Regions from separate parts of the Homo sapiens genome. Here region 2 is linked to region 1. The links are contacts of gene promoters, found by promoter capture Hi-C in blood cells and fetal thymus (Javierre and others, 2016). All regions are on one chromosome and are shown on one strand. Each heading gives the region's core, a stretch centred on a gene start or on the middle of the fragment in contact. The rest is flanking DNA. Distances are from core to core; before and after follow the strand shown. Region 1 holds the start of BRWD3 (bromodomain and WD repeat domain containing 3). Region 2 has its middle 3.1 kb from the start of MAGEE1.

Region 1 (2,700 bases), core at 84-2,583:
ATGTATCTTTTTATATCATTTTGTTGTATCAATTATTCATATTTGTTTTGTCAAGTTCCATGGCAATAACAACCAAAGATAAGCCTATCACTTCACAATTACCTCCTGTGGTTATTGCTTTCTGAGGAAAAAAAAAAATTACAAGTGAGAGCTAATCAACCTAGGCTAAGTTTATGTCAACTTAGAAATTCAAGGCCCACTGTGGTCAGTGGCAGAGCTGAGTGAGGAAACCCAATTCCCAAGAATATAGCCTTAAATTTAGATGAACCTTCAAATTGTAATATTTCAATGTAAATAATACATGCAACTTAAAATGCATTTCTGGTCTCATCAGGTTTAGGTGAGGGAGTGGGGTGGGGACAGGATGTTACGGGAAAGTAGGGAAGAAAAGGACCCGGTTTACTAATCTGTGTCAATTATCATACCAACCCCTTTCATCATTGAAGATTTCAGCAACCAAATACTGAAGGTCAGTGCGGTACCAAGGGTTGGGGTTATATATTAAACAGTGTAGTCCCGAACCTGTAGAAAACTATTGATACCTTGCATAGAGATAGGCAATAATACATAAAGATTATTGAAAACTCTTGGTTAAAGTACTTTAGTAGTATTTGAAAACACAATAGGAAATTACCCTGTAGGAATGGGATGTGTTAGATCCCAGCCGTAGATACGGCACGTGTTAAACTTTCAGAAGGGGAAACATGCTTCACGGCTGATTGCAAATTTCTCATGCAATATTTGTCAGAATCCAGGAGCATTTTAAGTGGTCTTCTAACAATATAAGCCCCGCACTTTGGACTGGTAAGTACAACATTTTCATTTGGTAAATAATAATAATTTTAAACAGAAACAAGTCACGACCAAATAGCGACTCATCCTCCCCCAGGCATAAAACCCTTTAGCCAGCTAGCCGCCTTTCCACGGGGTAGAGTATAAACAGCAAACAAAACCGCTTTGGTACCGGGAGGAAAAAGGGGAAAGGAGTCGAGTCAAAACACCGTCTCTTAAGTTCCTCAAGATCAACCCAGGGGGAAGGGTCCTCCACCGGAAAGGGCCGGATTGCCTTCACAGGAAGGGAAAGTCACTCCGGAGCTCGCAGACGCGAATGCCACCACAGAGTTCCAAGGCGGCTGCCAGAGCGTCGGCCGTCAGTTAGCACCTCCCCCTCCTTCCCAGAGCTGTAGCTAAGCAACCATCGGGCTCCGGGAGAGTCTAGGCTCAGCTGCTGTATTAGTGCCTCTAGCGGGGAACTATGAGCGCTGCAAAACCCTATCACCATTTTTACCCTCCCCTCTCTCCACCCCCTTTGCCCCCGCCCACCTCTTCGCCACTTCGGCTCCTCCCTCTTCTCGCTCCGTCTATCTCTCTCTCTCTCTCTCTCTCCGCCCCCCCACCCCCCGCGTCTCTCTCTCTCTCTCTCTCTCTCTCTCTCTCTCTCTCTCTCTCTTTTTCCTCTCTCTCTCTCTCTCTTCTCTCTCTCTCTCTCACTCACTCACTCTCTCTCTCCCTCTCCCTCTCCTCTCCTTCCTCCTCCGCCTCCTCAGCTCTTGGGCTAGAATATCTATGGGTCGAAACGTGATGCGATGAATTCGAGAGAGAGCGAAACTAGGACGAGGAGTGCGGCGGAAGCGGCGGGACTCCCGGGCATGGGGGCTTCACCACAATAGAGGCAGCGCCCCCACCCGCCCCCGCCAGCCCCTCCGGAGCGAAGCCCCCAAACCCCCTCGGGAAAAGGATGGCGGCAGCACCTACCCAGATCGAAGCCGGTGGGTAGCTGTGTCGGGGGGTGGGGGGGTGCTAAGGGAATGGGGGCTTAGCGCGAAGGCTGTCAGTTTCTTTTGAAAAAGCTTCTATTTCTCTTCTCTACCTCCCTCTGAACCTCTTTTCCCCCCTCTTCCCCAGAGCTGTATTACCTGATCGCTAGGTTCTTGCAGTCTGGACCCTGCAACAAATCCGCTCAGGTAAGGGGAAGAAAGAGATCTGGGAGTCGTGGTGAATGGTCCCAGTGGGGAAATCGAGGCAGCGGGACGAGCAGTTCCGTTGAGGGTGAGGGAAAGGCCGGCCTTGACTAGTCAAACGGTCAGCGGCTGGGCTTTAAGTGTGGAGGGAGGAATGGGTTGATGGCCCGAGCTGCTCCTCATATCTGTGTTTCCCTTTTGCTCAGGTGCTAGTGCAGGAGCTCGAGGAGCATCAGGTACGGAGCCCCTTCGGGAAGGGTGGGGAGGGTTGAGGTGAGACTGGAGGAAGGGGAGGGCAAGTCAGGGGCGGAAGACGGGCTGGGATAGAGGCTTCGATCTGGGTACCCGTAGCTGTTGTCACCGGGGTGAATTGGCTTCTTCCCTCAAAAGGGGCAGACAACGCTGGGGTCTTAACTCGTCCCCGCTTTATGCTTGTGGGAGGCAGTTTTTCAGGATTTCCTTCTCGACCCCCCTTCCCCCCCCCCCCCATATACTTGTCTAGCTCTGAGCCAATAGCTATCAGGCCGAGAGAAATAAAGACGGTAAAGTGTTGAGGACTGGGACACAGGTTGGGTCCAGTTGATGGGGAGCGGAGGCTTTTCCTTCATCATTTGCCTCCGCTTCCCCCTTTCTTTTCGTCCGGCCCCCAGCTGATTCCGCGCCGCTTAGATTGGGAGGGGAAAGAGCACCGAAGAAGCTTCGAGGATCTGGTGAGTAAAGTTTTCATTTCAACTTAACC
Region 2 (2,700 bases), core at 70-2,569, 4.4 Mb after region 1:
TCCCTTATATGAATAACCAGTTTCGGTTCTGTGAAGTCCAATGCAGTTTTTATGCCTGGGGCCTATTCAGAATGGGAGGCACAAAAAAACCTAAGATATTTCTAAGCTTTAGCAACAGATATTCCTAACCTAGGGTACAGTGATTTTTAAAGACCCTGAAGTTGTTCAAACCTATAAACTAAAAATTTTTACCTCTAGAAATATATTCTAAAGAAATAATAAGATATATGTGCAAATATTTAGCTAAAATAACTTTTATTATATAATTTGTTCTAGTATAACAGAGCTGAAAACTAAATGAATGTTAAATAACTAAAGAGTATTTGAAGAAATTATGGTACTAAAAATGGAATACCAGTAAGTCATTATAATGATATCAAAGAATTCCATTTCTAATAATGTATAGTTGATTGCAGCAGCCCTGCGGAAAAAAAACCCCAGAAATTTAGGTAAAGAAACCCTTTTATGGCAACAAAGGCTACCAATATAGCATCAGAAACCTATAAAGGCAATGAGGACTTCAAGAGTAATGATCTCAGAAAAAAGGGAAGTGCAAAGAGGTGAGTCTTACATTGTATACAAGTTTGTCACTTAAGGAATTTAATGATTTGTAAGCTGATAATTTGGAATTCTGAACTTACTGAAATAGTACATCAAAAATGAAGGCAAAATAAATACATGTTCAGAAATCAGTGCTGAGTAAATTGATCACCAGTACACCCACACTGAGGAAATACTGAAAGGTTCTCCTCTGAAACTGAAGAGATGCAAGAAGCGAACAGTAATAGAAAGGATAAATATGTGGGTAAACAGACATATTGACAATGTAAAACAATAATAATAATATGTTTTGTGTAATTTATATGTAGAATTAAAATATAGGAAACAAGTGAGTGCAAGAGATTTGGGGACTGATCAAGAAAAATATATACTACCACACGTTTTCAGTAACACACAATGAGTTTTTGTTGTTTGTCTGTTTTAGAATTTCAACTTTTATTTTAGATTCTGGGGATACATACACAGGTTTGTTATATGGGTATATTGCATGATGCTGAGGTTTGGAAAACAGATGATCTCATCACCCAGGTAGTGAGCATAATACTCAACAGTTTTTCAACCCATGACCCCCTTTCTTCTTCCCCCTTCTAATAGTCCTCCAGTGTCTGTTTTTGCCACCTTTATGTTGATGAGTACCCAATCTTTAGCTCCAACTTATAAATGAGAACATATGGTATTTGGTTTTCTGTTTCTGTGTAAATTCGCTTAGGATAATGGCCTTCAGCTGCATCCATGTTGCTGCAAAGGACATTATTTCATTAGTTTTTATGGCTGTGTTGTATTCCATGGTATATATGTACCACATTTTCTTTAGCAAATATCAGTGATAGACACCTAAGTTGACTCCATGTCATTGCTCTTGTTAATAAGGCTGCAAACAACTATGAGTGTATGTGTCTTTTTGGTTGAATGATTTCTTTTCTTCTGGATATATGCCCGATAATGTGATTACTGAATTGAATGGTAGTTGTGTTTTATGTTCTTTGAGAAATCTCCAAACTGCTTTCTATAGTGGTTGAACTATATATAGTGTTTATTATTACTAATTTACATTCCCACCAACAGTGTATAAGCATACGAGTTTCATTTGGTCAACCCTTTGACAGGTTTGCAAGGGCATGGGGTTAATCAAAGTCTGAGATCTTCCAGAGGCTGGTGGGAGGTCACAACCTAGAAAATGAGAGGACAAGCTAACTGGAGAGAGGGAGGGGAATCAAAGAGATGGCTTATACATGTAGCGATGTCTCTCAGCAGCAAGACAGGGAGTTGCTGGGTCAGAGATCTCTGAAGGGCAGCAGTAGGTTAGGGTTTTTATCTCCTGGAGTTTATCCTATCTATAGCTAACAGATGATTGTAGTTTCACAGGGACATGCAAAGAAGGCAGCCTCTAAATGGCTAACAATCTACTTATTGGTCTATATTTAAAACAATTGATGTGTAAAAAATTGAGTTTGGTACTGGCAGAATCAATATATAGAGACTATCTTTGGCTCATGCATATAACAGTCCATCCCCTGGCCCAATGTTGTCTTATAATTAAAATTGTATGTTATTTTGCAGTGCCTAAGTTTCTTGCCAGAAATAAAGGAGACAGAATCCTATAAGGGTACAAACAAGGATTTCAAAACCCTTTCATAGCCAATCTGCCCACGTAATGGAGGAAAGCCAGGGGAATCGATTAGAAAAAGGAGCAGATTTTAATTTGTTCAATTGTTCAGTCAGTAGAGTGACATTATAACCCCTTTGCTACATGTTCCTGTCTATCCATAATGCTAGAATCAGATTGGCAGAAGCAAGTCCAACATGCAGTTAAATTTGTCATTATATGTGTTTCTGTGACTTAAGATATCTGCAGGTTTAGGCAAATGAATGTTCCTCCTTATTTGGATTGGTGTGCCTTGCTTGAGTTTCCGGGTGATTGCCAGTAGTAAATAGCATCAGAATGTTTGCATGGGTCTAGAGTAAGCTTCACAGTATCTCTTGGCAGTTTTTAAAAAGTTATTAATTTATACATGCACCAAATTTGATTCTGAACTGTGGAGTACTCACATATGTGATCCTCAAAGGTAGGGCAAATTATTTCAAAAATAACCATCAATCATATTATAAATTTGGCCTATTTATTTCCCTGTTTATGAT

What was found. The method cuts DNA at HindIII sites, captures the fragments that hold promoters and counts their contacts. A CHiCAGO score of 5 or more calls a contact.
Region 2: a fragment that was not itself captured here is called in contact with the fragment with the promoter of BRWD3 in region 1 in 1 of 17 cell types (non-activated CD4 T cells); the score reaches 7.2 in non-activated CD4 T cells.

Annotation. Positions count from the first base shown.
Region 1 is chrX:80,808,510-80,811,209 of GRCh38, reverse strand. BRWD3 (bromodomain and WD repeat domain containing 3) reads left to right here and starts at 1,333. Exons shown (of 41, transcript NM_153252.5): 1 at 1,333-1,769; 2 at 1,906-1,964; 3 at 2,168-2,197; 4 at 2,612-2,671. The coding sequence starts at 1,739. It overlaps LOC124905202 (a long non-coding RNA gene), which reads right to left and starts at 2,402. Exons shown (of 2, transcript XR_007068278.1): 1 at 1,917-2,402. RefSeq lists an enhancer at 1,019-1,098. The HindIII fragment of the contact is 3,163 bases long and covers 1-1,852 here.
Region 2 is chrX:76,423,241-76,425,940 of GRCh38, reverse strand. No RefSeq gene overlaps it. Among named protein-coding and RNA genes, the nearest start is that of MAGEE1, 3.1 kb to the left of the region's middle. The HindIII fragment of the contact is 2,421 bases long and covers 109-2,529 here.